Linked DNA regions of Homo sapiens: region 1 is linked to region 2. The links are contacts of gene promoters, found by promoter capture Hi-C in human tissues and cell types (Jung and others, 2019). All regions are on one chromosome and are shown on one strand. Each heading gives the region's core, a stretch centred on a gene start or on the middle of the fragment in contact. The rest is flanking DNA. Distances are from core to core; before and after follow the strand shown.

The links. The method cuts DNA at HindIII sites, captures the fragments that hold promoters and counts their contacts. A contact is called where the count stands out against the background at its distance.
Region 1: a fragment that was not itself captured here is called in contact with the fragment with the promoter of MYOCD in region 2 in 1 of the 25 tissues and cell types used here (heart right ventricle).

Annotation. Positions count from the first base shown.
Region 1 is chr17:12,611,838-12,618,023 of GRCh38, forward strand. The region is part of intron 3 of LINC00670 (long intergenic non-protein coding RNA 670); the gene reads left to right. Among named protein-coding and RNA genes, the nearest start is that of MYOCD, 51 kb to the right of the region's middle. The HindIII fragment of the contact is 3,123 bases long and covers 2,608-5,730 here.
Region 2 is chr17:12,661,516-12,667,657 of GRCh38, forward strand. It overlaps MYOCD (myocardin), which reads left to right and starts at 4,375. Exons shown (of 14, transcript NM_001146312.3): 1 at 4,375-4,728. The coding sequence starts at 4,674. The HindIII fragment of the contact is 11,548 bases long and covers 615-6,142 here.

The DNA.
Region 1 (6,186 bases), core at 2,919-5,418, 50 kb before region 2:
TCTAGGGAAAACAAAGCTGACTGTCAAAAGCCCGTTAATAGCAGACAAATTCTTCTGCAATCCTTCAAGCAATGTTTCTCAACTGTGATGTACATACATATCTCCTAGGAGGTATTGCAAAAATACAGATTCTGATTCAGAAGGTCCGGGGTGGGGCCTGAAATTTCATATTTCCAGATGAAATGCTGTTGGTCCAAGTCACACCTTAGCAAGTTGACTGTTTCTATACCATCCATAGATGGAGAAAAATCTCAATGCCCTTTCTCATCTAGAACTGTAGGAAAAAGCTATTAGCTAGAGAAGCAATGATTGTCCTTGTGTAGAATATGGGTTTAATTCTAGGCTGCCTGCCCTTGATGGATGAGCCTTATAGGTAATCACCAATTTAAAATAAAGAAAGATCAGTGTATAATTTTGTAGTCCCTGTCATCTGTCACAGTTATAAAATGCCATGTTGTGAAATGCTGAATTTACTCAGAACCCCCCCAGTTACTGGCAAAGTGTCCATGCTAAGTTTCTAATTTCAAATATGCTTTGTTGAAAAGCTTAGAAATTGTATCACTTCATGGAAAAGAGAGCACTGAGAAATTATATGACTTCATGGAAAAGAGAGCAAGCACTGCACTGAGATTCAGAAGACTTGCAATACAGTCTCAGTTTTGTCATTCATTTGCTGTGTGACATTGAGTCATGCCTTCTACCCTTCTGAGGCTCAAATATGAATTAAATAGCGCCAACTAGATGCCTTCTAGGAATGCTTTCAACTCTAATGTTCCACGTGCTATATAACATATGGAAACATAATTTAAGTTCTCACTAGCGATCAGGAAGTTGCCTTGTTAGTGGGATGCGGTTCATCATTAGTGTTAATATCTCTGGTTTTATATCAGTGAGAACAAAGAGGTGAGAGTGTAATAGTTGAGAGCACTGGCTTTGAAGTCAGGCAGAGTTGGGTTCAAATCCTGCTGCCTCATGTTCTAGGAGTCTCATGGATTACAAAATTGACTTAATTTGTCTGAAGTTCAGTTAGGTCATCTGTAAAGTCCGATCTGTGAAATGGGTAAGAAAATAAACCAGCCTCTTTGGAATATTGTAAGTAGAGTGGCCTAATGTTGTGGTTTGACGGGAACTGAGGGTTTTCCCTGGAAATGGGACTTTCAGTGCTAAAAGCAGAACAGTTCGAGGCAAACCGGGATGGTTGGCCACCCTACAGTCACAAGTGTCACCTGAGATAAACCTGTAAAGCACATAGAAAATATTCAATGGACACTAGCCATGGTTGTGAATAGCACATAAATATAGAGATATCAGGGTGAATTTTTTTTTTTTTTTGAGACAGAGTTTGGCCCTCGTTGCCCAGGCTGGAGTGCAATGGCACAATCTCAGCTCACTGCAACCTCCGCCTCCTGGGTTCAAGTGATTCTCCTGCCTCAGCCTCCTGAGTAGCTGGGATTACAGGCATGCACCACCACGCCCGGCTAATTTTGTATTTTTAGCAGAGACAGGGTTTCTCCATGTTGGTCAGGCTGGTCTCGAACTCCTGACCTCAGGTGATCTGCCTACCTCGGCTTCCCAAAGTGCTGGGATTACAGGCGTGAGCCATTCAACCAGAGCACGACCCAACTTTGCCTTTTTGACTCTAGATTTCTACTTTTTAAAGGTTATATGGTTTTCTTTCTTGAGAAACAGAGAGGACTGTGTAAATGTGACATATCAAGCCATACAAAATGGCTGCCTTTCTGCAAAATAAAATTTGAATCAAGGGACAGAATAGCCTCTTAATGATGAGCCCCCTACAAGCCTGGTTTGGGGATGCTGATGTGGCCACAGGCAGACATAGGCAGCACTCAGCAGCTCTGATGGATGCAACACCAGCCAGGAATGTGAGCAGCTGTCCTTTCTAACCCCGATGTCATTTGCTGAGGCAATGCCAACTTCCTTCTCTTCCATCAAAACATTCCAGAGTTCATCCTTGTCAGGCCATATACAGATATGTCTCCTACGATTTGCATAAGGCCATTGTTTCTGGAATTTGGGGATTTTCCAGCTAGAATGTCTCACGTATGCTATTCTGCACAGACAATTGAAGAGAATGCAGGAGCCAAATTCCCTTGTTATGGCTACTTCTGCCCTCTAACTGGTTCTCCTTTGGGAGCTTCTCTTCTCTTCCTTTCTACTCTCTGCCCACCTGGGCTACCCACTCCTCTGGGCTCAAGGTCCAATCAACCACACACAAAGCTTCAATTCTGGTTGTAAAGCTGTCAGTCACACCAGTTTCTCATATTTTCTGTCTTTGATTACTCTTAGTGTTATTTCTTCTCTAATTTCTCCTGTGGTTTATTAACTGCAATGTTGTCAACTTCATCCCAGCTTTAGGTGACCTGGAAACTATAACAGGACAACAGGTGATCTGTCCTGCTTGTCCAGGACAGTCCAGGATTGCACCTGTTGTCCCAGGTTACTAATTAATCGAACCCCCGTTTACTTTCAAAAATGTCCACGTTTGGAAGACAAACGATACAATCACACTATCCAGACCCAACCTCTCGAGTTCTACTTTCATCTGTTTTATATTGAGCAATGATCTCCCTTATAAGATTTTAATTTGAGTGTAACATTTTGATATGTTTGAACAAAACAAAATGAAAAATCAATCTTGCCAGAAAGGGCAAGACATTCATAAAAACAGCCAACTGATCAACCCGTTGTTTTGCCAGGCAGAGCGAAACATTTATGAAAACAGTCAACTGGTTTGAGGAGAAAATTCACCAAAAGCAATATAGCTAGAAGTCTAACATCTTAATGAGGAACAGTGCTCTTCGTCCAGACTTTATCGCTTTAGGTACAAGATGCCCAAAACACAAGTTTGTACCTTACGAGCAAAATTGTGAATTGTATATAGAAAAAAAAATAGAGGTGAATCACCAAGTAAATGGGTCATCAAAATGAATGTCTTCAATTCTACCTTAGGAGAAGCTTTTGGAGACAAGACTGGCAAATAAGTGGGCAGTATATATGACCCCATGGAAAGTCCTGGGGGTTTGGGATCCATCAAAGGACTGGAATTAGGATACTGACTTTTCTTCCAATGGTGTCCCTGCGGACAAATGGCTTAATGTCTCTGAACATTATTTTCATGACTTACGCTTTCATAAAAAGTTCAATTAACCATTGGTTTTCAAACTATGCTCTGCAGAGCCCAAGGATTTTTAGCAGAGGTGCCCTGTGCACCCTCAGGAGTTATACTTTTATTCGTTTTATATCAAGCAATGATCTCCCTTGTAAGATGAAAATTTGAGCTTAACATTTTGCTATGTTTGAACGAAAGATTTTGATGCAAAAATAAAACGTGAGCATTTATGGTTTAGGTAGCCTCTGAGCTCCCTCCAATTCTGGTATATGTGATTCTAAGGCCTTAGAAAATGTCAGCAGTTGGAGAACTATAGATAGAGATGAACAAAAGATTCCTCTGCTGTCTGCAAAGCCCTAAAGTAACTTGCTAATAAGTGCAGACCAAGAGGGCCTTAGGCCGTGTGCTCTGATCTATTAGAGAGGCTGATGGAGACCAGGGTGTGTCTGAGGAAAGTGCTAATACAGACATACAGAGCTGTGGCTGTGAGGTGTCTTCGCTGGAAAAGAGCATTCTGGGACTCTGAAAAGTGTTCCCCGAGATGTTCTCTATCACTCACAAAGACCCGGAGATTCTAAACTGGTCCAAAACTGATTCTAGATTTTTGGCAAAAGGCCTGGTGTCTGAAAATAATTACCAGTATGTCCAAAATTCTTTAAAAGTTCTAATAATAATAAAGTCTGGAGCATTCTAGCACTTGGGGGAGTGGGGTAGCATGTATAAAGTTAAAGAGATAAACACTCATCTGGGGTGAAAATTAAAATTCAGAAGAATTAGGTAAGATACCATCACGAGTGCAAAGGTAGATCAGGAAATCATGCTCCTTTCCTGTATTTCAGGTATCAGGAGAGAAAAACAGATAGTGGAAAGTGTGTGGCAGAAGCGCTTGCTTTCACTGGCCTGGAGGAAAAGTCAAATTTTGAGTCAGAAGAAAAAGGGTAGCAACACTGAGAAGTCTGTGTCCTGGCTGCTTGTGTGGTCAGGTGTACTGCTGGTAATCAAACTATGAACCTGGGGTCCATATGTCCTTCTCTTTATAAAAGTACGAAATAAGTTAGGGCTTAAGATTGAACTGCAATGAAAATTATTTTTGCTTTCCTTTTTTTATCTTAAAAATTTTTAAAGGGATTTTCCAAGTTTATATACTGTTTATCTCATATCTGGAACACTTTTAAATTTTGGTTAGATTTGGAGTAAGTTTGATTATAGTCTTTTCTATAGTCTTTTCTTGATCCTTAAAGAATGATTCATTTGATTGCTGTTTCTTATTTCACTGAACTTTTAATCATGTCACAATACTATTTTTAGGAGTGTCTATGGATTTCTACTGCCTGAGAAGATAAAGCCCCAAGTCTTCACATTAAAGACTCTCATAATCTCACATTGGCTTTCTTTTCAGTCCTTATGATCCAGAAACACCAGGTTACCCATTAGTTGCCAAGCACATTCTTTACCGTCTTCTTAGTGTCCATTCATCTACCCTCCCGCCACCATATCTCCTCCTTCATGAAGCTTTCCCAGCACAGGAACCCCAGGTGGAATGAATCACTTCTGCTCCCAGAATCCTCTGCTCCCAGTGATGGCCATTGTGGATCCTGCTGTTCCTATGTGTATAACCCCCTTGCTGTGTAGGCTGTAAGAAGCATGAGGACAGGGACTGTGCCTATTCTTTTTTATAACTGGCATTTAACATAGAGCCTGGCATATGACAGATGTCCAACAAATCATTTTAGAAGAAAATAATTTTCTTAATTAATGAATTTTTCATTGCATCTAAAAATTAGGGGGCTGAATAGTCCTTTAAATGGTGGATGCTTCTTTGGTCTGTTTTAACTTTATAAACTTACTTAAGTGGTTGTAAAATGAAGAGTGCTGTAAATCTGTTAAGACTACATCGTTTCAGTTAAGGATGACTGATTAAGCACATGTTTTTATTCCTACTCCTCTTCCAAATGTCCATAGAACTGCTATTCCCCCCACACAGAAAAACTAGTGAAAATATCTGCATTAATGCTGCAAAATAGGGAAAAGCATTATCCACATGAAAACAACTTGGAGGAATTTCTGCTGAATATAGTGCAGAGGCAAGAAGTCAGATGAAACCCACCCATAGTTGAAGATATGCAAAGTAGCCCCCACCGGAGCAGCCAATGGAAAAGCACCCCTGACGTGAGCTCTTGGAAATCTCCTTGAATCAAGGCCTTGGTGCGCCATCTATAAACGCTGCTAAAATGTCGTGGATATAAATGGAAAAGTTGAGGCTGGTTGACAAAGTTGATAAAACCTCTAAAAGATGATTCAAATGAACAAAATGTGTCAAAAACAAATTATGAGATAATCAGGGAAATGTGAACCCAGACTGGATATTTAATATTTCAATGATTGTTAAATTTCCTGTGGAATAATGGAACATGAGACTTTGGTTACACTTTGTATTTATTTATTTATTTATTACTATTTTACTTTAAGTTCTGGGATGCATGTACAGAACGTGCGGGTTTGTTACACAGGTATATGTGTGCCATGGTAGTTTGCTGCCCCTATTGACCTGTCCTCTAAGTTTCCTCCCCTCACTCCCCACCCTCCCAACAGGCCTGGTGTGTGTTGTTCCCCTCTCTGTGTCCACGTATTCTCATTGTTCTACTCCCACTTATGAGTGAGAACATGTGGTGTTTAGTTTCCTGTTCCTGTGTTAGTTTGCTGAGGATGTTGGCTTCCAGCTTCATCCATGTCCCTGCAAAGGACATGATCTCCTTCCTTTTTATGGCTGTGTAGTGTTCCATTGTGTTATGTACCACATTTTCTATATCCAGTCTATCATTGACGGGCATTTGGGTTGGTTTCATGACTTTGCTATTGTGAATAGTGCTGCAATAAACATACGTGTGCATGTGTCTTTATAGTAGAATAATTTATATTCTTTTGGGTATATACCCAGTAATGGTATTGCAGAGTCAAATGATATTTCTGGTTCTAGATCCTTGAGGAATCACCATACTGTCTTCCATAATGGTTGAACTAAATTACATTCCCACCGACAGTGTAAAAGCATTCCT
Region 2 (6,142 bases), core at 3,125-5,624:
ATGGACATAATCACTTCCATTGTGGCTGAAGGCTGAGGACCACAGCTATGGAAGGCAGAATTGAAAGGTGACCTCTCAATGAGCTATCCCCTTGGATAATCTTCTCTCCTTCAATATGGGAGAGACCAGTGACTGTGATGGATGCACTGTTATGATTAGGTTACATTATTTGGCAAAGATGAAGAGGTTTTTCAGACATAATTAAAGTTCCTAATTACTATGACTTTGAGTTAAAAGAAAGATTATCCTGGGTAAGCCTGACCTAATCAGGTGAGCCCTTTAAAAGAGGACATTCTCAGCCAGGTGCGGTGGCTCATGCCTGTAATCACAACACTGGGAGGCCGAGGAGGGTGGATCACCTGAGGTTGGGAGTTGGAGACCAGCCTGACCAACATGGATAAACCCCTTCTCTACTAAAAATGCAAAAATTAGCCGGGGGTGGTGGTGCATGCCTGTAATCTCAGCTACTCAGGAGGCTGAGGCAGGAGAATCGCCTGAACCAGGGTGGCGGAGGTTGCGGTGAGCCGAGATCACGCCATTGCACTCCAGCCTGGGCAACAAGAGCAAAACTCTGTCTCAGAAAAGAAAGAAAGAAAGAAAAAGACATTCTCCTGCTGGCCTTGGAAAAAAGCAAGCCATTGTGAGTTCTAACACTGCAAAGACCTGAATTCTATCAATAACCAGTGAACTTGGAAGGGGACACTGAGCTTCTCATGGGACTGCCACCCTAGCCAGCGCCTTGAGTGCAGCATTGTTAGACCCTAAGCAGAGGTCCCAGATAATCCATGCCTGGACTCCTGACCATGAAAACTGTGAGATAATAAATATGTGCATTGTTTTAAGCTGCTAAATGTCTAGCAACTTATTACACAGGTAACTAACAGCAAAGGAGAGAAAGCCAAAATGAAGGGGAAAGGGACAGAATTGCTTGGAATCTTCATGAATGTTTGGAGATGGTTGGGGCAGGGGAAGTAAAAAGAAGGGTCCAAAACACACCAGGGCCGGGCACGGTGGCTTACACCTGTAATCCCAGCACTTTGGGAGGCCAAGGCAGGCAGATCACCTGAGCGCAGGAGTTCAAGACCAGCTTGGCTGGTCTTGATAGGGGGAAGCCCTATCTCTACTAAAAATACAAAATCATCTGGGCGCAGTGGCATGCATCTGTAATCCCAGCTACTCGGGAGGCTGAGGCAGGGAGAATCTCTTGAACCCAGGAGGCAAGGTTGCAGTAAGCCCAGATCGCACCACTGTACTCCAGCCTGGGCAACAGAGCGAGACTCTGTCTCAAAATAATAAAAAATAATAATAAAAAACACACCAAAATTGTTCTGGGCACCCCACATGTATTCTTTCATTTAAATATCCCAACTCTTCCTGGAAGTAAATATTTCTAACTCCATTTTACAGATAAGACGTTGAGTATCCCAGAGAACTCCAATAATTCACTCCAAAGTACAGGGTTATCCTGATGGAAAGAAGATCTTTCTCACACTGGAGGCTCATGTCTTGCCTTTGTGTCACATCACGGGCTTACTCCAAGCCCCAGGAAAAGAAGGTCATGGAGTAGCCTGGCAAGGAAAACATACTCCAAGGTGGTGGGTGACATTGCAGGACAGAGCCTGGCAGCATGCCGCTGCTGCATTAGCCTGCTGCTTTTCGAGCCTAGCAGCTTAGGAGTTCTGTTCTCCTTGAGAACATCTTCTCCAAATTCCACCCCTCTCAAAAATTTTTTTTGTTTTACCAAAAGTGCTTGGCTAGAGAGGAGAAATGATGAACTTCTTTATGAGCATATTTATAACCATAGATATTCCAAGCCATAGGAGGTATAAATTTCAGGATATATGTCAGTAGCTCCACACTGTGATGGGAAAATTGAGGGGGGCTATGGTTATTGGCATTTCCCAAACTCACTGAAAAAAAGAAACTGCTTCCCTGCAAACACACATACACACACACACACCACACTCCACACATACACACACGCGCGCACACACACACACACACACACACACTCCCCCTAGGCCTGCAGAGAGAAAACAACTTACTCCTGGCCAGCTCATCTAGGTCATGCAGACCCTACAATCAATGCTGGCTTCAGCTAATTTCATCCCAACTTGCACTGAAAAAATAATTCTCTGCCAAGTTGCCATGTATCTCTTCTCAGCCCCAAAGCCTTCGGGATAAAAATCTGTTTGGCTTTTTCTTTTTTCTTTTTTTAATGTTGCTCAAAATAGTTTTCTCTGCTCAGATAATTTTGCAATATTCCTTATCCCACCAATCTCTTCCCTGTAGAGTACCTCCCTGCCACACACATCTCAAAGCCGGTCAGAGCCCTTCCAGACTCCTGTGTGCACCCGTTCCCAAACCTCCCTCCACTTTCCTTCTTCTCATTGAAGACCAGGGGGCTGGGGGTTGACTGAAGACCAGGAGAGGTAGAAGAGAAAGAAAGATCTCAGGCGGAATCATGCCCTCTCCTCCCATGTTCATGTCCTAATCCCAGGAATCTGTGAATAGGTTACATTATACAGCAAAGGGAATCCAGGCAGTGGATGAGATTAGGGAGGATAATAAACTGACTTTATGATAGAGTTTATTTTTGCCGTAAGGTTAATGTAGAAGAGGGAAGCAGAAGGTGGGGAAGGGAGCATTAAAGCGGTAAGATGCAATAGGAACTTGACCCACGATTGCTGGCTTCAAAAATGGAGGAAGCGGCCATGAGCCAAGTACTCGGGCGGCCTCTAGAAGCTGGAAAAGGTGAGGAAATCGATTTTCCCCTAGAGCCTCCAGAAACTAACGCAGCCCCGCTGACACCTTGATTTTGACCCCCTGAGACCCACTTTGGACTTCTGCCCTCCATAACAGCAAGATAATTAATGTGTGCTGTTTTAAGCCACTACATTCGTGGTAATTTGTTATAGCAGGAATGGGAAAATGATGTTACGTAATCGCTGAGATGCTCCTGCACACGAAATCAGCCTATAGACAGGCGCCCAGGCCAGGACTAGATCCCCAAAGGGAACATGGATGGATTGTTCTTCCTCGTCTCTGACACATCAGCAAGAAGGTGTCTATCCCTGAAGACCTTATTTACAAAATCGCCCCGCTCAGATCCAGAGAGTAAGCTCTAGGGCTAACCCCTCTAATGTGTTTTCAGCAACAGGGGATGGGGCAGAGGCCGGGACCAGGACATTAGAGGTTGTCCCCATGAGCTATTGTCACCTCGGGTCTCCATCTGTCACCGACTGATCTTTTAAGGACTCGTAGTATGCAGGCAGGCTTGTGTGTAATAGACGACACCCGGGGTCCACGTGCATATGAAGTTGCAAATAAGCCCTAATTATATACGTATACAGAGTGGTTTTTATGTTCTGAGCCACCAACTATTTAACGGGCTTCTTGAGAGATGGGTCTTTGTTTTATTTCATTGATCCATGTGCCTATAACACCTCGGCCAGATGCACAAATAACTCTGGGTCGGTTACGGAATGGATTTTCCCCTAAGGAGAGACTCATTCGCAGGCAAAGTTTTTGAGCCTTCCCAAGCTAAGCCCAGCCCGAGCTCTGACTTGCCCCCTGCTCCAGAGCCCCTCCCTATTTAGAGCCCAGTAGGTTTTTCACTCCAACTCAGGTATCTTTTCCCATTCCCTCGGGGTTGTGAGGTGGGAGCGTTGTGTCGCAGCTGGATCTCCAGATGCGCCGTGTCACATTTGTCCCCCCAAAAAGCATATCCTAGAAAATGAAAGCCTTTCCATTTCCCCGTGGAAATGCATCTAAGTCCAGTATTGGAGCTGCGAGATACAGAATCGTCTCTGCCAGTGCCCTGAGCCCCTCAAACCGAGGGGAATGCGTGGGCTTCGGTCCGTCGGAAGCTTTTCTTCTCAGGGGTCCAGCTTATTTCCAAATTGCCCCGCGTGAACTGTCCCGCGGGCGCGCACGCCCTTTCGCGCAGCCTTTGCAGCCGGCTGGCGGGAGATCCCGGCCGCTTCCCTTTCGCCGGCAGAAGCCCGGCCGGGGAAGCCCCGGCTGCGCACGCCCATCCCCAGGACCTCGGAGCTCCCAGCGGCTGCCGCAGCCCCGCGAACCACCTGCAAGCCCCGCGGCGTCGCAGCCCTTCCTTCTTTCCTCCGGGCATCCGCTCTTTAGCTCGCGCCCCTCTCCCAGATTCCCGACCCCTGGCCCTGCTCCCGCCCTCTGTGCCTCGGCGGCTGCGGGGCCCGCCGCAAAGAGTTAAGAGCCGGTTCCCGAGACGGCTTCGGCGGCTCCGGGTCCCCAGACCCCGCTCGCCGCTCCTGATTGGCTGAGCGCCTGTCAGTAGTAAAGGGTATCAGATGGCAAAGTTGGGACCTTCATAAAGGCGTGGTGGCGATTCTCCGCAATCGCCGGCAGCCTATGACATCAGACAGGAACGCCTGGGATGCCGCGCTGCTCCTGGCCAACCTCCGAGGAGGAGGAGGGTCCCGCCGGCTAAGAGTTAATTAGCCCCGCACGGCGAGGGGGGAGGCGCCAGTTTTCTGGGGACACTGGCTGCCACTGTACTCCTACCCAGGGGAGCTCACGGAGAGTTGGATGAATTCTGGGTTGTTAGCTGCGGTCAGCTGGGCTCCCGGGAGCCTGTTGCTGGTGGAGAACAGGGGGCGCCTGGCCAAGGGACCAGCGGCTTGCTGAGACTCAACATGACACTCCTGGGGTCTGAGCATTCCTTGCTGATTAGGAGCAAGTTCAGATCAGGTAGGGCTAAGGCATTTAGCATTCCTTCTTAAACTTTCCTCTTCTGCAATTCTCAACTCTAGAACTGCTTTCCAATAAATGTTTCAAAGCCTGCCAGGTCTACCTCAACTTTGTTCCCCAAAAGCACATTGTGGAAGCGAAGAGTTTTGTTTGACTTTGGGGGCCTTTCGTGTCTTCCGTTGTAAGTGCTTTGGGTGGTCGAGTGTGGTTGTTCATCTGTGAAAAGGCCAATCCTTTTATTTTATTTTCTCTGCATCTATGAATAGAAATTTTGGAGGGGTACATTCAGAGGGAGCAACTTTGGAAATGAACAAATAAGGGATTTCAAGTTTGGAAGCTGCGTAGTATCGGTTATAATCGCTGAGAAGATGAACCTGATGTTGTGTGTTAGGTACAGGGGTCACTTAAAATGTAGCTAATCCAAACAAATGTATTTCCCAAAAAAAGTCACTTGGGGGAAGTAAAAATAGCAAATTTGGAGCACACCAAGTATTTAAAATGACATCACTGTAGAAAAAAAAAGAAAGCCCAGTGCCACAAATATTTTTTCCCAAACCATCTGATATTTATAAATAGAGAATTTCCCCCAAAATTTCTGTGTTAGTGGCACATGGAGAAACTTCTCAAAGGACGCTGAGTGGAGGTGAGTGGAAGGGAGAGACGGGAGCTCTAACCGCTTCTCCAGAAGGGCTTGTACACGCGCCCATGGAAGGTGTCTGTGTGGGTCTCCACGTTTAGACAAAGCAACACTTGACTTCTGAAGTTATTTTTCAGTAGCTCTGTGTATAATGTTGGTTTTAGAAAACTGGTTAACAACACACTCAACAATGTAGGACTTCTACTTAGATTGATGACTTTTAGGAGAACTCTGATGTGAACATTAGACATAACAGGTGTCAGAAAGATGCTGGCATAGGTTGCTAAGCTAAAGTTTCCTTAGCCCTTCTACATGGGGCCAACTCAGTTGTTTCACTTGGGATGGATGGTTCAAAAAGGAAAAATGTAGATGCTGGGAGGTAAGGTTCATCTGTGACTTTCTTAGATGCCCTTGGTTTTTAGATGCCTGTGGAGTCAACTGGAGATTTTCTTAGGATCTTCATTGTTGATGCAAGTTGAAAACTCAAGAGCTTAGGCGGTCACAAGTCTCACTGCCCCTGAAGCTCTGGGATGAGTCCGCCAGCCACTGGGGTCGGCAGTGGATTAAGTCCTTCCTTTCCTTTCCATGGTGAGGTGAGGCGGTTGATCTGTTAACCAGCTAGAGACCTCACCACTGCGTTGTATTCGGTCAAAACTGTAAGGCAACACTGCCACCTTTCTGAAGAAGAGAGGATGTAGATTTGTTTTCTATGAGGCTGCATTCATTTCAAATGCTTCCTTGCCAGTTTAAATGTGGAGGGTCTGGGGGTGCTGGTTT